7 separate regions of the Homo sapiens genome follow, and regions 1, 2, 3, 4, 5 and 7 are each linked to region 6. The links are contacts of gene promoters, found by promoter capture Hi-C in blood cells and fetal thymus (Javierre and others, 2016). All regions are on one chromosome and are shown on one strand. Each heading gives the region's core, a stretch centred on a gene start or on the middle of the fragment in contact. The rest is flanking DNA. Distances are from core to core; before and after follow the strand shown. Region 1 overlaps ARHGAP24 (Rho GTPase activating protein 24). Region 2 overlaps ARHGAP24 (Rho GTPase activating protein 24). Region 3 overlaps ARHGAP24 (Rho GTPase activating protein 24). Region 4 has its middle 130 kb from the start of WDFY3. Region 5 overlaps ARHGAP24 (Rho GTPase activating protein 24). Region 6 holds the start of ARHGAP24 (Rho GTPase activating protein 24). Region 7 overlaps ARHGAP24 (Rho GTPase activating protein 24).

Region 1 (2,892 bases), core at 358-2,857, 410 kb after region 6:
CCTGTAATAAAGGAAGATTGAATCGGAAACTATCAAGTTGTGGAATGTTTGACTTTCTTCTAGAAAATATGGAAGGTAAATTCATTGATTTTTTTTCTCCTAGAAATATTTGGCAGCTTTGATAAAGAAATCTTGGGGTTGGAGTTGAGAGTGTTGAGTACAGAAATTGTTGCATCAACTAAAATTGTTATTTTAAAGTTTTATTATTTCAATTTACTGTCTGATCTGCTTCATCTACAAATTATAGGTATAAACATAATCTCTAAAATGTGCCACCTTTTACACAGTTATATATGGTAAAAATGGGTTTGGAAAATTTTTAATGATGTAGGTCTTTTATGTCTGTCAAGAAATACAAAGAAACTGCAAGAGTGGTCTGAAGTTACCACGTAGAAGGAAATATGGAAAAAAGTTTTCTTATTGAAGGCATACATCCTTTCTTCAGTGTTTAGATTTATTCATTATTAGCCAACGTATTTTAGGAGGGCATTTTAGGATTTAGTTTCTTTTTGGTACATATTAGATTCATTACGCTTCCTTTATGTAAAGTTTAATATTTACATATGTGGTCTTGATTATAGTATTTTGAGTGCTATATAACTCCCCTAGCCTTTTAGTTTTGTAATCCACATAGACAGCCTAATTTAGGCTTATATTTGCTTCTGGAAACTTGGTGTCTATTATAGGTTTTAAAATATATGTTTTTTAATTGTGCTTTTCAACTAAGGGCCAGTTTTACAAATTCTAATTCATAGTACATTATCTATAGAAACTCACGAATACCTATTAGCTGTTACCCAGTTTGGGGGTTTTATTAATTATCTCAGATAATAAAATTAGGTATTTTTAGAATCTTCAAGGTCGTCTTTTTGAAAGGTTATTAAGTGTCTCTGAAAGTTAAAAATTTGAAGTATAACAAAACCATTCTTGGATCATAGACTATATGTCTTAGACTTAAAATAATAATACCATGAACTTTTAATACTTATTTATATCTTTTAAAATTATTCCTAGTAAATTGGGAAAATAGTAGTTCTTGGAGTCCCATCTATTTCCAAATATTTGATAATGGCTCATGTGTTAAATGACATGGCAAACTAAAATGGTATGTTGTTATGGCTAGTAGAATGGTCATTTAACATCTGAGCTTTTTAATTTAATTGTTTAAAGCTAGAGTTAGATGTGGTAGATTATGTTGGTTGATACTTTATTTATTATCTTTTATAACTATGAGAGCAAAATTTTGGATTAGTTATGCACTTCCTAGAATAGGAATCCCGCACAGAGAAATTTGAAATGCAGTGTCATCATCAATTTCCTTGTTGCACCTGTCCAATGAAGATAACTATTAATTAAAGTCACAACATTGCTATTCTAATGCCATAAAGAATTTTGAAACATCTCATGAAATTTCAAAATACCTTGAAGAGATTGTATCCAGATTTATCTTTAATTTGGAAATGACTGAACTCAAAAGTAATTCATTATCTGAGGGCCCAAGATAATCTTTAACAAACCATGTGTTTAGCAAAAGTTTAATGATTGTCAATGACCATTATCTGACAACATAATTTATTTACTGTAATATGATAAACTTCGCAGGACAATTATATAATCATACAACAACGTTACCATGTGAAATACAAAATGTGAGTTGGGTTACTTACCTGATTTAAGTGCAACAGTAAGCTGCCCCATGGGTAGAGTATACTTTTCATTTTCAGTTATCACCCTGCCTCCAGATTAACATTCTCATGTCATGTAAAGGTGAGCACTTAATAGATGAAGAATTAGTGCACCAGAAGGTGGTCCTGAAAGTACTAAGCCTTATCATCATAGACCAGGCTTGTGTGTTGCTTATGGAATCACCACTAAAATAAACACTTGAGTTGAGGCCACCCAAACTTACGGAGAGAAAGGGAATGATAGTCATTTAGTGTTTATTTTCTAAATGGCACTTTAAAACCGATACATATCCCTAGAGCTTTGAAAGTATTAACTGAATAGCTTTTTTGCTTTCAAATAAGTGAATACATTAAACAATGAAATGATGTCATAAAGCATCTAAAATAATGATGCTAGATCATATCCATTTCCCCCTAAGATTTTCAAATAAAATAGTTTAAATTAACCCCTATACTCCACACTGATATGAAAATAATAGCTCATTTATGTTTTGATACAAGAGAATGTTTAAACAAGGATGACTCACATGGGCAATGTATTTGTTCTATGCATAGAATTTCTTGTTGGTCATTACAGAGACAATAAGAGATTTTATTATATATAAGCTGTTCAGCTTTTCTCTTGCCTTGATCTCATTATCAATCAGATAATGATTGCATTGACTAGCTTTGGTACCATTTTTAAGAGATTTACCTAAATAGTTACGATATGGCAAATGTAATTTTTGAAGTAACAAGAGCATACTCTGGTACCAATATTCAAGAAATATTTGTATCATCTATATGTATGAAAAGGACTAGAAGAAGACAAAAGAGTAAAAACTGGTGTATTTACTGTCATGATGATTATTTAATAATTGTTTTTCATTAATATTGCCAAAGGTTTATGTAAGACATCATAATTTTAAAAGGAATCCTCTAACATTTAATTAAAAGATTCTTTGCTGATTAGAGTATTAAAATATATAATCCAAAGCCCTCAAAAGTTTCTTCTCATCCAAGGTTAATTAATTATATTTAAAATATGTCTATTAAGAATTATTAATCAAAGGAGAGGTATACCAAATTTTGATAAAGTTTAATGACATCAAATGAAAATCTATCCTTAAAATAGTGGGTAAAAGAGTAAGAGACTGAGAAAGAGATGGAACAAATATCTTCCTGCTCTATGGATTGGGAGACTGTCTCCAGAAACACCAGGACATAA
Region 2 (3,069 bases), core at 16-2,515, 360 kb after region 6:
TTCTCAACATCACCTTCCCTCTGTGCATATCTATCACTGTGTCCCTATTTCCCCTTTTTATGAGGACACCAGTCATATTGGATTAGGGACTACCACTTTGACCTGTAAAGACCCTATTTCCAAATATGACCACATTCTGAGATACTGGAGGTTAGGACTTCAACATATCTTTCCTGAGGAACATAATTCAACCCCTAGCATTGGCTCAGAAGAAATAATAGTAATGGGAGAACCCAAGAAAATTCAGAGTCCAGGACTGGCCTCAGTATTATATTACCTCCATGCTATTCGAAGTGTGGTCAGTGACTAGCAGCATCAGTATCCTGTCAGCGCTGGTAAGAAATGCAGAGTCTCAAGCCTCTTCTAGACCTCCTGCATCAGAATCTGCATTTTAACCTAGATCCCCAGATGTTTTGTTTGTACATTAAAGTTTCAGAAGAGCTGTTCCAACTCACAGAGTAGAAGCCCAATTCTCAAATGCCAAAAAGGAGGGGGAAAAAGGACTGTGCTGATGTGCAGGGACTCCCTAAATATGTGCACATAGCAAGTATGGGGTCATCATTCTAGCCCAGCTGTGACATATTTATTCCTAAAGGTAATATTTATCTCTGAAAGTTTTAGGAGTTAAGTGTTGATGACTATTTATTCCCTTGCTGTAGAGCATCCCTTAGGAGTGAACTCAGAAGATCATTAGGCAGAGATAGCTCAAATTCTTTTTTCCTACACTTGCTTTGATTCTGTAAGTTGTTTCTTTTCTGCCAACCTGCTCTATAATTTGAGTCAGCCTAGCTAACTGGGTCATACAATCTAATTCTGAAATAAGGCCTGTCAAGGGAAAACATTTTCCCCAGTAATGGGGAAAAGGTACTTGAATTTCTAACATCATTCTTTAAGTGATTGAAAATGTCGTGAACTCTTGCTTCACTGACTTCTGCCTCTCCTGCCCCAAGGTCTTTGCACGTCCCTAAAGATGTAATTCAGCTGGAATTTGTGGTTGTGGAGTCTATGTTACATGAAGACAAATCGAAAGAGAAAAACAAAAAAAAACAAGCAGCGGAATTAAACTTTGTCCTGGAGTCATCTTGGGCAAATGCTTATAATAGCAAGGGAACAAATGCAGCTTCCCTAGAGGACTCCGAGGTTGCAGTTCTCATGGGGGTGGGGACTTGAAATGACAAGTGATTATTCACAGAAGTAAAATATGCTCAGGAGGAGCCCACTCCCCTAAACTCCAGTGTCAGCAAGCACACCATATGGACTGTATTCCAATCCCAATAAAACTGCCATGCTGCGGGCAATGTTGTAGGGAAATTTCCCTACGTGGGAATCAATCTTTGTAACTGATAATTAGAGAATTTTAACATTTTTATCATCTTCTCTCGAGTCCTATAGTTTAGATTCCTCGATCGGTATTGTATTTCTGCTCTGCTGGCTTTATCTATATGCTAAGTAGTAAAACAAAACCAAACTTTGAAAATGTACTCCCAGCATCATTTGACTGTCTTGATCGTCCTTTCTGTTAACATTCTTTATTGGGTTCAAATAATGTCTGGAAAAAATAGCGAACGTGTGTTATTACTAGGTGCCAGCCACTCTCCTAAGCATCTACATTACTTATACACTTTTAATTCTCACAACAATGCTATAAACCACAGATGGGAAATTGTGCAGATGAGGAAGTTGAGACACAGGTTAAATCGTGACATCAACTAGTGGCAGGGTCAGAATTCAAATCTGATTCCACAGCCTGTGAGCATGACTACTGTGGATACTGCCTCTCAAGAGAGACATGTAATCATTCTGAATATATCTTTAAAAGGCCAAAATAGCCGGGCACGGTGGCTCACGCCTGTAATCCCAGCACTTTGGGAGGCTGAGGTGGGCAGATCACGAGGTCAGGGGATCAAAACCATCCTGGCTAACACAGTGAAACCCCATCTCTACTAAAAATACAAAAGCAATTAGCCAGTCATGGTGGTGGGCGCCTGTAGTCCCAGCTACTTGGGAGGCTGAGGCAGGAGAATGGTGTGAACCCAGGAGGCGGAGCTGGCAGTGAGCCGAGATCACGCCACTGCACTCCAGCCTGGGCGACAGAGCGAGACTCTGTCTCAAAGAAAAAGGCCAAAATAACTACTGCAAAATGTGTTTTTAAAATCTCTTTTATTGCATAGCCAATTATGGCAGATATGCCCCCCACTTCTGTTGCTGAAACTGTATCCTTCCTTAAGTGACACATTTTAGGGACGTTTTCTTTAAGACATAAACAAAATACAATTATTTTCACACCTTCCCTCCCCCACTAAGTCCATCCCTCCCTCCCCCAAGCTAACTTTGCCAAACACCTGCTCTGTTCTTCATTCGCATGGAGGGCCCACCTTGGAAATTTTCTGCTCTTCCTCTCTTTATTTCTTCCTCCAGCTGCGCTGAGCCCCTCACCTTTATTTGTTGTCATTATGCTGATCAATATTGAGTTCTATCAAAAATCGTAGCTCAGTTGCCACAACCTGAGCATTGTTCATGGCATTTTCATGAGCAACTAATTACCTTAGATGGCATCTAATAAATGTTTGGCACCTGCTTAATTCCAAAGGGAAGGGGAAACACAACAATTACAATGAACTAAAAATGGTAGCTATTCTCATTACTTTCAGCAATCATAATAAAACAGAGAAGACTCAGTAATAATAATTGTATAAATTATTTTAAACATTAAAAAGAGTAATTTGTAAGTATGTGCGGCTTAACATAGCCCTTGCTCCAAAGTACGTTTCTGAAAGAAAGTGTATATGCTGATTTAAATATGGATATCAGAGGATAGAGACTTTCTAGTGCTCCTTATTCTCATCTTTTATTAACACTGATCATCCAAACTTGAATTCTTAATAACTGTTTATGTTCACACAGAACTTCTTTATCAGTTCAGATAAAGCTTTAAACCTGAATATGTCTGGTCATAATTCTAACTTTTTTTTTCTTTTTTTGAGATAGAGTCTCGCTCTGTTGCCAGGCTGGAGGGCAGTGGCCTGATCTCGGCTCACTGCAACCTCTGCCTCCTGGGTTCAAGCGATT
Region 3 (2,853 bases), core at 326-2,825, 440 kb after region 6:
TTATTGCACCAGGATTTGCTTTCTCTTGTAATTCTAGTCTGTATCAGCATTGGTGGAGGAACACTGATCTGAACATAAATACCATCTCTCATAGCAGCCTTCCTCCTATGTCAATCAGATATTTTGACATGAATCTCCCAACCTAAACCAAACTAAATTAGAAGAGGATATAAATTCTAGATACTTTAGCTCTGCCAAGAAAATGTTCTACCTTTATTTCTTGGAAGATTCTATCAGAAGAATGTAATTACATACTGTGAAGGAAGTAACTAGATTCTGAATCTCTGACAAAAGTGGAAGTCAGAATATACTGTTGGACTTAAATTGTTAACTTCCCAGTGTAATCTGGGAAACAAGTATTCAAAACATAATACATTATATCATTCTTATCTTTGACATGCTCAGCACAAATAGCACACTTTTGAAGGAATAAGTCCAAGAAATGCGAAAAATAGTGAAATATAAACTTAGCCTATTTGAGATTTTAAAAGTTTCATAAATCACTGAAAAGTAAATGTATCACAATTATACTTTTTTAAAAACATGACCAAAATAAAAGTCAATATTTACTTGAAAGATAAATCAGTCATCACTTTCTTATTTATTTATTTATACTTTAAGTTATGGGATACATGTGCGGAATGTGCAGGTTTGTTACATAGGTATACACGTGCCATGGTGGTTTGCCGCACCCATCAACCTGTCATCTGCATTAGGTATTGCTCTTAATGCTATCCCTCCCCTAGCCCCCCACGCCCCAATAAGCCCCAGTGTGTGATATTCCCCTCCCTGTATTCATGTGTTCTCGTCGTTCAACTCCCACTTATGAGTGAGAACACGTGGTGTTTGATTTTCTGTTCCTGTGTTAGTCTGCTGAGAATGATGGTTTCCAGCTTCATCTAGGTCCCTGCAAAGGAAATGAACTCATCCTTTTTTATGGCTGCATAGTATTCCATGCTGTATATGTGCCACATTTTCTTTATCCAGTCTATCATTGATGGGCATTTGGGTTGGTTCCAAGTCTTTCCTATTGTGAATAGTGCTGCAGTAAACATACGTGTGCATGTGTCTTTATAGCAGAATGATTTATAATCCTTTGGGTATATACCCAGTAATGGGGTTGCTGGGTCAAACGGCATTTCTGGTTCTAGATCCTGGAGGAATCAACACACTGTCTTCCACAACAGTTGAACTAATTTACACTCCCACCAACAGTGTAAAATTGTTCCTATTTCTCTACATCCTCTCTAGCATCTGTTGTTTCCTGACTTTTAATGATCGCCATTCTAACTGGTGTGAGATGGTATCTATTGTGGTTTTGATTTGCATTTCTCTAATGACCAGTGATGATGAGCTTTTTTTCATGTTTGTTGGCCGCATAAATGTCTTCTTTTGAGAAGTGTCTGTTCGTGTCCTTCACCACTTTTTGGTGGGGTTGTTTTTTCTCTTGTAGTTTATTTAAGTTCCTTGTAGCTTCTGGATATTAGCCCTTCATCAGATGGATAGATTGCAAAAATTTTCTCCCATTCTGTAGGTTGCATGTTCACTCTGATGATAGCTTCTTCACCTGGTCCAGAGCTGAGTTCAAGTTCTGAATATCCTTGTTAATTTTCGACCAGGTGAACTTAATACACATCTACAGAACTCTCCATCCCACTAAAGTTGGGGAAAGTAATACTTAAAAAAATAAATAAATAAATAAGAGCTTATAGTTGTATGAGTGAAAATTATTAACTCTGTATTCTAAATGACAATTAAATGACATAAATTTCCAGTATTTTTCTGTAGTCTGTAATAAAATGGATAGTAGAACAGTCTAGTTTTCAACTGATTTGCAGTTGGGAATGAGGAAACAATTCACCCTGGAAGTTATTAACAGCATCTGAGTATTCACTGAAATGTCCTCAGTTCTCTACTGTGAACTTGTCTTGGAAACTAACTCAAATGTCTGTGACAGCAGTTTCCTTTGTGCAACTGCAACTTGTTTAAAAATTTAAATGCAAACAAATAATTCACTGCAATATTTAAATAATTATTTATTGGAGATGATGCACATATCTTCTAAGAAAGACATCACTTCTTTTTTTTATTTTATTATTATTATACTTTAAGTTTTAGGGTACATGTGCACGATGTGCAGGTTAGTTACATATGTATACATGTGCCATATTGGTGTGCTGCACCCATTAACTCGTCATTTAGCAGTAGGTATACCTCCTAATGCTATCCTTCCCCCCTCCCTCCACCCCACAACAGTCCCCAAAGTGTGATGTTCCCCTTCCTGTGTCCATGTGTTCTCATTGTTCAATTCCCACCTATGAGTGAGAACATGCAGTGTTTGGTTTTTTGTCCTTGCAATAGATTACTGAGAATGATGATTTCCAATTTCATCCATGTCCCTACAAAGGACATGAACTCATCATTTTTTATGGCTGCATAGTATTCCATGGTGTATATGTGCCACATTTTCTTAATCCAGTCTATCATTGTTGAACATCTGGGTTGGTTCCAAGTCTTTGCTATTGTGAATAGTGCCGCAATAAACATACGTGTGCATGTGTCTTTATAGCAGCATGATTTATAGTCCTTTGGGTATATACCCAGTAATGGGATGGCTGGGTCAAATGGTATTTCTAGTTCTAGATCCCTGAGGAATCGCCACACTGACTTCCACAATGGTTGAACTAGTTTACAGTCCCACCAACAGTGTAAAAGTGTTCCTATTTCTCCACATCCTCTCCAACATCTGTTGTTTCCTGACTTTTTAATGATTGCCATTCTAACTGGTGTGAGATGGTATCTCACTGTGGTTTTGATTTGCATTTCTCTGATGGCCAGTGATGTTGGCATTTT
Region 4 (2,955 bases), core at 139-2,638, 380 kb before region 6:
TCAGAAGTCATATAATATGATTTCATTACCTGTATTTGGCATATTTACAATAATTTGCCGGTGAGATGTCAAATGTCAAATGTAAGCATAATTTAAAAGTGGCTATAGTATTGTCTTAGTTCATTTGGGCAGCTATAACAAAATGCCATAAACTGGGCAGCTTGCAAACAACAAAAATCTATTTTTCACACTTCTGGAGTCTGGGAAGTCCAAGATCAAAGAGCCACAGATTTGGTGTCTGAGGACCCATTTCCTTGTTCACAGATGGCACCTTTTGTGTCCTCATGTGGTGAAAACGTGGGAACTAGCTCCTGTTTTATAAGGGCACTAATCCTATTCATGAAGGCTTATGACCTAATCACCTCCCAAAGAGCCTCTAACATCACCTTGAGGGTCAGGACTTTAACATAAGAATTTCAGGAGACACAGAACATTCAGACTATAGCAAGCATGCACAAACTATATTTTATTCATTTAACATTTTTGAGTGCCTGTTACATGGCAAATATTGTGCTACATGCTGAGGTTATGAATGTGAACAAGTCACGCCCTCCCTCCTCCAACTCTCAAGAAAGTTCACCAAAATGGCTGAAGGCGTTTCCATTAAAAAGAGATATATCTCTGCAGGAACTTTCTTAGATAAGCATGTTTGACAGTGGGAAGAGAAAGAGGAAAAGGTAAATCCATATAAAAGAAAGAAAGCAGGGAGATGGGTTATTTCCTTTGACCCTTTGCTGGTTTGTTCCTGTTTTACCTGTGCGAGTAGACTATTGCTATATTTCTAGGACAGTGTCCAGAGATATCTTTTTCCTTTGCTTTGGACACTGCAGGTAAGATGTAGGTGTGATAAATAATTTTGAGCTTGTTAGTTTCAGGGTAATTGGTGAGGAAGGAAAAAGAAGATGACATACCTCAGAGTTCACTAATTGGCATTTCTTCTTGAAACGTGAACAAGAAAGCAAAATTGGCAGTGTTCTAAGACAATAAGGCAAAGGATTGTCTGCTGTGCATACATGGCTGCTGTGACTTTTCATTTCAGTTGCGTGACCAACTTGTTTGTGACCTTGATTTGTGCCTGAGGGTTTCATTACCTGATTCTTAGAACTGTAAAATAAAAACCAACATGAAGCCAGTCAAAACCCAAAGTTGATAATCAACTATAAATTCTCTGAATTTTTAGGCTATTTGTTAGTTGCAAGTTTTAGATTTTTTGTACTCTATGTAAACACTTTCAAATCACATAAATGCTTCCAGAAAAGTCCACACAATATGCTCTTCATATAGAGCTGGTTCTACTAGTTGATAATCAGTAATATTATTTACTGGGCTCCTCTTCTAATAGGAGGGATAATTCCATACTATTTCCATTTATTCCCTTTTACCTTTACCTGGAACTTGTTTTCTTTGTGAAAATACCATGTAGAGGACAACCAAGTAGCATTTTGGCGAGAAAAAGATTTATATAAATTGACTGAATTAAGAAAACAGAACCTTTTGGAGCATTTTTTTTACTAATTTTTTTACTAAAGAAAGTGTATTTGTCACTGCATTTGCTATATGTCATATTCGAAACCATGTGGAATCTTTTTGAATAAAGAAACAGATCAGGTAAAAGCCTGGAAAAATGTGTAAGAAAATAACAAGTTGTAAGGAAATATTAGCAACAAAAATTTATGGTGAAATGAAACAAAGCAGTAGCATCTTAATAATCAGGAAGGCTAATGGATCTCTGCAACGTATCATTATAAAAGCATTTCAAAGGGCTGGGAAGCCATCCCACTTGGAACTCTTCGCGTAATCCTGAACCTTATATGACAGGAATGGTAACAAAGCATCAATAAAGACAGCCGTGATGATAAAATATCTTTAGGTCATAGCTCCTTTTGGAGACTAAAAAAAATAAGGTCAGTACTTATTCTGAGAGGAAATGAAAGGTGAACATGACTAAGGCAGATAAAGTTTGGAGTATAAAAAAGTATATGAAAGAAAACTCTTCAAGGATAAAATAGTTCAAAAGCAAGAGGGCATGAAATAGAACAAAGGAAGGACTGACGTTTAAAAGAATGCTATTAAAAGAGTGCAATTCAGGTGTGAAAATAATGACCAAAGGTAGCCATGGAAATTAATAAATGCTTCCATTTAGTAAGAAGGAATTTATGAGATACTTAGGTAAAATTATGGAACAAATTAGTGGGTGTTGAAAGTATGACCTGAATGTACTTTTAATGAAGAACTTCTATATTCTACCTTGAAGTATATCTTACAGATAATTTGCTCAGAGGTAAAAGATTACATCTACTGGGCAGCTGATGGCATGTTATATGCTGCTTTGAATTTATTGCTGACAGTCAATCAATTGTATATATAGGATTATGTTATGAAGTTTTTATTTACAAGCACATTTATAGGCCAACATAGACACCTGTCAATGGAGAAAACTATATTTTGCTAACTATGTAATTAATAAAAAGACATAACTAGGGTTTGCTGAAGTAGATCTGGGAAGTGACTATAGTCAATTATTCCAATTCAGTACCTTCTTTGTTAAGTGAAAGTAAATTGTATGCACATGAGACTTGTATTTCCCTGAGCTACACTAGCTTTTACAGGCAAAAATGTACTTACATTAATTACAGTAGATTATGTTTATTTTTCTCCTTGTTATTTTATTTCCACCTGCAGGATTTTTTACTACCTGTTATTTTGTGATTTCCATTACCACTCACATCTCTTCTATACATTTCTTGGCATCTCCAGGATGTTTCCTGTGATCTCACAAATATATCCCTTTAAACTATTACTCTCTATGCAAAGGCATTTTGCTAGTTGCATCTGGTATCCACAGTCCCCTATTAGGCACAACCACTAAGTACTAACATTGCCCTTGGGTGTTCTAAGGCAGTATCACACTATGTGAGGCCTTCAGCACACTGTGGGGCCCTTGGCCATACTTAA
Region 5 (2,700 bases), core at 6-2,505, 380 kb after region 6:
GGGGGCAATAGATGCAGGTTAGTGAGCATGGTAGACTGCTTACCATGCCTCTGGGTTCCTGCTTTTTATGTTTATCTAATATTTTTTCTGGCCCTCTGAAGCTCTGAAGGTTTCTATTAATTCTGAGTCCATGATGTATTCTAATAATTCTTCTTTTACTTAAGTTTGTCATTTTTAACCTCTTTTGCTTGTAATTAAGAACTTTAAGTGGAACAAATATTTCTTTTAAACTTTTCTTTAATACCTACCACAAAATAAGTTCTTCGTCACCATAAGACTTGTGAGAAAAAAATGTAGAATAAATACAATGGACATAGGCCTTCTTTCAATTAGTTGTTCATTCATGTAACATTCAATAAATGTTTATTTAATACCAGTTGCATTTGAAGCACTCCACTAAGCTTAGAGGTGTGAGAGAAACAACTCTAACATTTGTGAAACAAACAAAGCAACAGGGAACATAAGCTGATGCTCAGAGCCCCTGACCACATGGTAGATGCTAATGAAGATGCAGTGTTTTATTTGGTTGACATTCTGTTGCTATTTGTTTAAACAATTTTGTTGTACATAGTAGTGTTTTCCATCATTTCATTTTTGGAATTTCTCACTTTTTCAATAATGGGATACTAGTAAATGGTGCCCATAGGTAACGTGATGTATTTGCTCCTTCCCCCATTCACAGCAATAGCATTTGCCTGAAAATGAGTAAATGCTTTGTGCAACTAAGCTGCATCCTGCCAATGGTATTCAATAAATTAAAACATAATGCTCTATGCAAATGTTAAAGAAAACATTATCTGGTATGTTATGGCATTAAATAAAGCATTTAATGCTGGCAAGTTGGCTTTGCCTCTGTAGACAAGATGATTCTAAGAAGCAATGTCTTGTAAGATATGAAATTAACCAAGCTGAGAGGGAAAGGAAAAGGAGTGGATGCATTCCAGGCAGAGGAAGGTGATCTGTACAAACGGTAGTGATAATGTGTCTGGAGGATCTAGGAGTTTCTGAAAGATTTTATTTTACCTGGAGAGATTGAAAAGGTATATCTGGTAGTAATAAAAATAAAAATAAATGAATCTTGAGAGGTGCACAGATGCCAGTGATTGAAGCACCTTTCATATCAACTTCAGTAGTATGGTACTCAGAAAAAAAAAATGCCTGAACCTCAGGTACATATAAAGCAATCTGTATAATCTGTATAATGCACATCCTCCTGCCATTATCTGCTTTTGGGTCTTAGGCAAAGGCCTTTCTCACTTTCACACATTGCTGCAGGTTGTTGATAGTATTAAAACATGGTTTGACCTGGGAAAAGGCCATTAGGGAAAAAATGTGAAGGATGGAGGTTTGACACCCACTTCTGTGCACACACACACATATACACACATACACACATACATAGCCACATGCATACACACACACACACACACACACACACACACAAGATGTGCTTGGGCTGTATGCCTTCCTTGAGAACAGCTTGGTTTCATTCGCTACAGAATCAGTTTCTCAGTCATAAGCTACCAAGACTTAGATGTCCTTTAGGAGTTATTTCATAAACTCTTGATATCAGAACCTTAAATAAATTTACTTAAATAATGTTCACTTATGGAGCAAAGATAGAAAATGGTAACAGAGTAATCTCGGCAGATAAAAATAAAGTCCCAAATGAGTATCAACATATTTTAGTAATAGTCATCAAACGTTTAAATACACAATGAACTTTGCAGACAACTGTTGAAATATTCTCTATAAATAAGCCACATATTTCTTCTCCTCATGATTTTAATGTGATATTTAGGTCTGAGTATCTCTATAAGCCCATGCTAATAGCTACTGTTTTAGTGACAAGTGAAGTTTTAGGGTCCTCACCGCTATCAGATATTTAGGTACATGGACTATTTTTACTAATTTATTCTTCCATCTGGCTGTAGTCTGGAATTTTAACTTCCAGTTTCATTTAAGAGCCTAAGCCTACTAATGAGACAGCCTTTGCAGCAGGTGGGAAGAAACAGAAACAAATGACAGCCTTTCCTTTTGAGCACCCCTAGTTATGTTTCAGTCTCCAGGGTAGTGCTTGTTCTTTACCACTGTCTCACAATGGCTAACCCAAGCTTTAGAGCTTACAATTAAAAAAAAAATTCAAGCATTTTTCCTGATATTAACAGGGCAAAGCTTTCTGATAAGGATTGTGCCCTAAGCAGCCTTAATATTTAATGCTGGTATCATACTGACCTGAGGATGAACAATAAATTATAAAAACATGCAGATGCTCACGTCCAGTGAATCAGAACAATTGATTTTCTTTTTAAACATGTGCTTGCCACGGGAAGTGTATTAATATGGCAGAAACAGGGCCAGGAAGCTTATATTTAGAATGAATTAGGCATGGAAGATGAATTACAGGGTAAGGTACTATTTATGGAGAATATAAAAAGCAAATGTGTAGAGAGATGGGGGAGTCAGGGTGACTTGTTGAAATATGGTGCCCCACGAGGGCTCACTCATATATGAGTCAGAGAATACAATGAAGATGCCAAGAAGGAACTGCAATTTACAGAGATGGTCTCTCCAAAGACCAAATGCTAAATACACATCATATTTTTGTGACATCTCTTCATTACGGTTTAATATTAAACCTATCAGCCCCTTTAGGATCCATATGGCAGAATCACCAGCCTGGTAGTCTGGAAGAACAAG
Region 6 (2,835 bases), core at 270-2,769:
TCTGAAACTGCCCATCAGCATTCACCTGCTAGGGTGTTGCTAGAACATGTAAGGCCATGTGGGTTGATGAAGGTAATTTATTCCCACCAATTGGAAAATAAGCTACATTACTTCTAGCTTAGGAATTCCATACATATTTTTAAAATGAAATATGAAACGCAATTTTTTCCCCACACAAATTAATTTGATTCATTAAAGGGCTGAGAATTCTCCCACCAGAAAATCAAGTTTATAGTAGGACCTCAGCATGGGATGGGGTAGATTCGTTTCTCCAAGAACTTGGAGAAAGAGGACAAAAAGGAAAAACATATCAGTGTCCACTCAGCCTTTTATTTTTGGTGTTTCTAAAACTAAACATTTGCTCTTCTTCCATATCCCTCTCTCACTGGAGATCCCTAGTGAGGACACCCCCATTCTGTGTCTTAAGGATATCTGGTGATGATTTCTAAAAGAGAGTTTCTTTTATTAGTAGTAGCAGTAGTAATTGTTCGAGACGGGGGTGTCACTCCGTCACCTAGGCTGGAGTGCGCTGGCACAATTATAGCTCACTGCAGCCTTGACCTCCTGGGCTCAAGGGATTTTCCCGCTTCAGCCTCCTGAGTAGCTGGGACTACAGACATACGCCGCCACGCCCAACTTTTTTTTTATTTTTTTAATTTTTTTTTTATAGAGACAGGAGTCTCATTATGTTGCCAATTTTGGTCTGAAACCCCTGGGCTCAAGCGATCCTCCTGCCTCAGCCTTCCAAAGTGCTAGGATTGCATGACTGATCCACTGTAAGTGGGTTTCTAAAACAGAGATCTTTACAAAGCTTTTTGAAATAATTTGACTCAGCATGCCAGGTAACCAGAACTGTAAGATCACAATTTGAAACAGACATTGTGGTGATGGTGGGAAGAGACGGCCTGCATCAAAACAATGTTTACTAGTTTGTCCTTTTGTCCCATATTGTGTAACTCCGAGAGTTCTTACACCACCGTAAGAAAGTAATTATACTTTGAATTTCTCTAAGGCTCTAGTTAGAGAGCATCCATCTAAATGTGCATTTCCAGGAATATTGCTTTAATGGCCCAGGTAATTCTAATTGGAGAAATAAAATGTTAGCGAGACAGAGTTGGTAGAAGCAAGTAAAACCGGTGTATGGGGTTTGGCCAATGAAATGCAGAGCTCCTTGAGGGCAGGAGACATGTATTCACCAACCTTCTCGCGCCCACAGCCCCAGATCTGTGGCCAACAAGTATCTATGATGCACTTGAAAGGAACGAGCGATGCCAGATGCGGAGGAACCAGGCAGGGCGCATTCTGTCAGTGGCGCCAGGCGGTGTAGCTCCAGCTCTCAGATAACCCAGGCTTTGGGAGGGCGGGGCTCCTGCCGGCCTCCCCTGTAGTGCGGCTCGAGTCCTGTGAAGCTACCAGTTGCCAAATGAAATCTGAAACCTCGAGCTGTGTCTGAGGGTTGGCCCCACTCAGTTGTTCCAGCCTCTTGTACTGTATATTTACACATTCACACACAATCACCCTTTCTAACTTCTGGGACTCTTTGCGCAACTGCTAGGATTTCTCAAGTGCATGTGGCAACACAGCCCAGCTCCGGGTGGAAACCAGCAGGGCTCTGGAGGGGCTCGGAGACCAGGGGAGCTGTCAAGGCTGCGGCGGGGACCAGAGAGGAGCCTGGCGGGGGTGGCTGGGTGGCTGGGGGAATCCCCCCAACTTCCCATCGCAGGCGCAGCTCTCTCGGCCGCCTATTTCCTCCGAAACCCGCGCTGCGGAGCAGCCCAGTGCATAGAGTTCAACACTTCCCCTTGTTGTGGAAAGTAAAGGAGCCTCACTACCACCTTTTTTTCTTTGCGTTTTCTTACTGCTGGTCCTGGGAGCCTTTTCCTTCGGAGCAGCAGCCCTGTCCGGCATCTGTCTTGAGCTCCCAGCAAGGTAGGTGATGCGGTCGCGAGGAAGTGCGCGGAGCTACCGCGGGAAGGACGGACGCGGCTGCCTGCGCCAGGGGAGGGGGCTGCGGGGGGCGGGGAGGGGGCTGCGGGGGGCGGGGAGGGGGCTGCGGGGGGCGGGGAGGGGGCTGCGGGGGGCGGGGAGGGGGCTGCGGGGGGCGGGGAGGGATCGCAGGAATCCCGTGCTGATGTAGCCTGTCTGTGTTTGTGTGTGTGTGTGCGCGCGCGCGCATGTTTGTGCCGGGAGACAGCAAGCTGGTAGTATGTCTTTCTGGCTTTAAAAATAGATGGAATTAATAAAAACCCTTTGTACAATTCAATTTCCTCTCTTGGTATCCATCCTCCCCTTCCCCTTGTTTGTTTCCTCTAGTATCTTATAGGAGTTCCCTATGTAACAGGCGCACAAAGATAGGTTTTAATAATAAGCATATATATTTGCAAAAATATATATTTTATATGTATAAAATATGTTTTAAAATATTTATAAATATATTACATATTAGAAATATATATTATAAAATATATACATATATTTGTAAACACAAAACGTTAGGGAATCTTTGGTGAATTTGAAGCCACTCAAAAGATTTTGTCCAAATGTTTTTAAAAATAACATTTAATGATAAACATGTAATATGGTCTCGTTTTTAGAAAATACTTAAGACTACATTTATTTTATACGTACCCAAATAGAAGGGAGACAATGTTACTCTGAATTCCTTAGATAGATTTTCAGCATCAACCAGTAATAGGGAGCCCAGACTTCTTTGTAGACTATATCTCGTTTAATTCATTTGAATTAAACAAGTAATTTCTCCAAGTAATTTCTGTTTCCAGCACATTTTATGTTACTCTTTTTTTAACCTTCCACGGCATCATTGTTTCATCTCTT
Region 7 (2,700 bases), core at 3-2,502, 460 kb after region 6:
TCCATTTCCATCACCTTAGCTCTTTGTGCCTTTATTGCTCCATGTATGCAACTTACTTTAACCTAAGTAGTGGCTTTTCAAGACAGCATTCATCCTCACCTCTGTGCACCCCCAGCACTCTTCACAAATTCCTACAACACACAAGCCATCTTGTGAAGCATTTCCCTATCTGTATTTCTAAAACAGTGCTGTCAAGCAACTTTCCACAGCTCAAAGATTTTTATGATCCCCTATTGCTCACAGGAGGAAGTCCTATTTCAAGTAACTATAAAGGCCCTCTAACAAATTCTAACAATTCCCTGGAGTATAAGCCCCCTAATTCCCCAGACTATTTCATCCTTTCTCCTAAACACATGTCCTACACCACTTCTTCATGTCTCTTCACTTTGTTTCCTCTGCTATGATGCTTTCTTCTCCATTGTCTATCTCAACTTTATGCTCTCTTCAAGGCATCACTGACTCTAATTTCTTCAGCAAGCTTTCTCTGTTTACCAATTATATGCTCCTAACTCTATAGCTCTTATGTTTTATTTTTATTTATTTATTTGTTTGTTTGTTTTGAAATGATCTCATTCTGTCATCGAGGCTGGAGTGCGGTGGTGAAATCTTGGTTCACTGCAACCTCCGCCTCCCGGGTTCAAGTGATTCTCCTAGCTCAGCCTCCTGAGTAGCTGGGATTACAGGTGCCCGCCACCACACCCAGCTAATTTTTGTATTTTTAGTAGAGATGGGGTTTCATCACGTTGGCCAGGCTCGTCTCAAACTCCTGACCTCAAGTAATCCTCCCACCTCGGCCTCCCAAAGTGCTGGGATTATAGGCGCAAGCCACCTCGCCCAGCCGACAGCTCTTACATTTTACATATGCTGATTCTTGGCCACTGTATCCTAATAGCCACCTTGAGGTGCTTTATACGCGTTTGTAGTATACACACATGCACATATGCGTGCACATACACACACACACACATATTCATTCCCAAAGTGGAGAATGGCAATAGGTCTATTCAATCAGGGATTCAAGATCGATTACAAACTGGTGAGGTACAGTGTTACTATCTATTCCCAGAATCCATAGGCAATAGAATGTCTTTACAGTGGTGGTGGACAAGACCAACATCCTCTTTAAAATTTGTTGTATGTTATATATGTTGTAATCACATTTATGAAAATGGATTTGCCCAACAAAACACCACTATCCAAATCTATATAATTTTAAACTGCGTATAAGTGACTAGCTCATTAATTCATATATCAATGTTTTATGGAGCCTCTACCAAGTGGTGCTGGGAATGAGAAGGTAAACAAACAGGTTGTCTCAAATCTATGAATTCACAGACTCCTTGGAATAACGAAACATAAATAAGTACTTTGTGATAAGCACCACACCAAATTATCTATTAAGTTGTAGGTGCCCCTGAACAAAAGGCTGACCACAGGCTCCTGTGGAAACCCAGTGATTCACATAAACTAAAGGAAATCGGGTTTGGTCTTTGAAAGTTACAAAAAGACATTTTCTCCCATGTGATACTAAGACAATAGTGAGAATGCCTTGGAAAAAATTATGTTTGAATTCAATTAACATAACATAGTGAAAAATGAAAGACTTTTAGAATCATATGGAGCTGTGTTTGTATCCCAAATCTGCCACTTTCTAGATGTGTGACCTCAGACAGGTCACCTGCCATCTTCAAATCTGTTTCCCTGTTTGTAGAAAAGGGACCCCCTTGTAGGATGTCTGTGAATGCCAAATAAAGAAATACATGCAACTTGCCTGACTTGGAACCTAGTGTGTATAATTGCTCCAATGGTCAAAGACCTAGTCCACTGGGTCGCTATGTACACCTTGTAACACTTTCTTAATCCTTCCTAGCATTTATTATTCTCCTTCCTTCCCCCCTCTGACTTTGAAAAGAGTAAAGATTCTATCAACATTCACTGGTTACGATAGACCCTGAGCTCCTTGGAGTAAAGGATTTCTATCTATATAATATTTTGTGGCTACTTAAAAAGTTTGTGATAGAGTGAAATAAGCTTTGCCTTGCTTTGTTTCTTAGTTCTGTACTAAAATGGATGTATTTTACTTTGATTTGCCCATTTGCTATGGGTGAATGTTCATTTTAATGGAAAATTCTTACCATCCTGGTGATACCAGGATTTATCCTGCTAGCAGAGTTGCAGTAAGCAGAGGATAAGTCAAGGCAAATTCCCACTATGGCTGAGTATGTGATCTGCAGACAAGAAGGGATAAGGAACTCAAAATTAATGGCACGACCCACGAACTATCAATGAGTTTCATTTGACATTGGAATTATTCATTTATTTTCTATAATTGGGGAGGTAAAGTGTTTTATTTCCATGCATGCATTTATTCCATAAATGTTTATGGAGCATCTGTGCGTCACCCATCTTGATAAGTTCCAGGGACATAAACAAAAGGCCTTGACTGTGGTAAAATAGAATTAAAGCTTTGGAGTCCTTTATACCTGGGACCCATCCCAGTGTGGTCCTTGTGTCTGTGGCACCTTGCCTAAACCTCTCCGAAGCTCATAGGATAGATATATAGTATGTAGCTGCTTTCTAATATTTATTATAATAATAATAAATGTAAAACAATTATTTCATTATAATAAATGTAAAAATAAAATCCTCTTTTGACTAGTCCAGCACAGGTTAGGCATCTAAATAAATAATTTCCATGCA

Evidence for each region. The method cuts DNA at HindIII sites, captures the fragments that hold promoters and counts their contacts. A CHiCAGO score of 5 or more calls a contact.
Region 1: a fragment that was not itself captured here is called in contact with the fragment with the promoter of ARHGAP24 in region 6 in 1 of 17 cell types (total B cells); the score reaches 6.8 in total B cells.
Region 2: a contact is called between a fragment that was not itself captured here and the fragment with the promoter of ARHGAP24 in region 6, in 2 of 17 cell types (total B cells and naive B cells). The highest score is 13.2, in total B cells.
Region 3: a contact is called between a fragment that was not itself captured here and the fragment with the promoter of ARHGAP24 in region 6, in 1 of 17 cell types (naive B cells). The highest score is 5.1, in naive B cells.
Region 4: a contact is called between a fragment that was not itself captured here and the fragment with the promoter of ARHGAP24 in region 6, in 1 of 17 cell types (naive B cells). The highest score is 6.7, in naive B cells.
Region 5: a fragment that was not itself captured here is called in contact with the fragment with the promoter of ARHGAP24 in region 6 in 2 of 17 cell types (total B cells and naive B cells); the score reaches 10.0 in total B cells.
Region 7: a contact is called between a fragment that was not itself captured here and the fragment with the promoter of ARHGAP24 in region 6, in 2 of 17 cell types (naive B cells and total B cells). The highest score is 8.0, in naive B cells.

The regions. Positions count from the first base shown.
Region 1 is chr4:85,884,650-85,887,541 of GRCh38, forward strand. All of the region lies in intron 3 of ARHGAP24 (Rho GTPase activating protein 24), which reads left to right. Among named protein-coding and RNA genes, the nearest start is that of MIR4451, 160 kb to the left of the region's middle. The HindIII fragment of the contact is 4,405 bases long and covers 1-2,892 here.
Region 2 is chr4:85,836,489-85,839,557 of GRCh38, forward strand. The region is part of intron 3 of ARHGAP24 (Rho GTPase activating protein 24); the gene reads left to right. Among named protein-coding and RNA genes, the nearest start is that of MIR4451, 120 kb to the left of the region's middle. The HindIII fragment of the contact is 3,324 bases long and covers 1-2,927 here.
Region 3 is chr4:85,914,826-85,917,678 of GRCh38, forward strand. The region is part of intron 3 of ARHGAP24 (Rho GTPase activating protein 24); the gene reads left to right. Among named protein-coding and RNA genes, the nearest start is that of MIR4451, 190 kb to the left of the region's middle. The HindIII fragment of the contact is 4,449 bases long and covers 1-2,853 here.
Region 4 is chr4:85,092,860-85,095,814 of GRCh38, forward strand. No RefSeq gene overlaps it. Among named protein-coding and RNA genes, the nearest start is that of WDFY3, 130 kb to the left of the region's middle. The HindIII fragment of the contact is 5,236 bases long and covers 1-2,955 here.
Region 5 is chr4:85,857,801-85,860,500 of GRCh38, forward strand. The region is part of intron 3 of ARHGAP24 (Rho GTPase activating protein 24); the gene reads left to right. Among named protein-coding and RNA genes, the nearest start is that of MIR4451, 140 kb to the left of the region's middle. The HindIII fragment of the contact is 1,713 bases long and covers 400-2,112 here.
Region 6 is chr4:85,473,631-85,476,465 of GRCh38, forward strand. ARHGAP24 (Rho GTPase activating protein 24) reads left to right here and starts at 1,520. Exons shown (of 10, transcript NM_001025616.3): 1 at 1,520-1,929. The HindIII fragment of the contact is 5,990 bases long and covers 810-2,835 here.
Region 7 is chr4:85,933,975-85,936,674 of GRCh38, forward strand. The region is part of intron 4 of ARHGAP24 (Rho GTPase activating protein 24); the gene reads left to right. Among named protein-coding and RNA genes, the nearest start is that of MAPK10-AS1, 180 kb to the right of the region's middle. The HindIII fragment of the contact is 1,553 bases long and covers 477-2,029 here.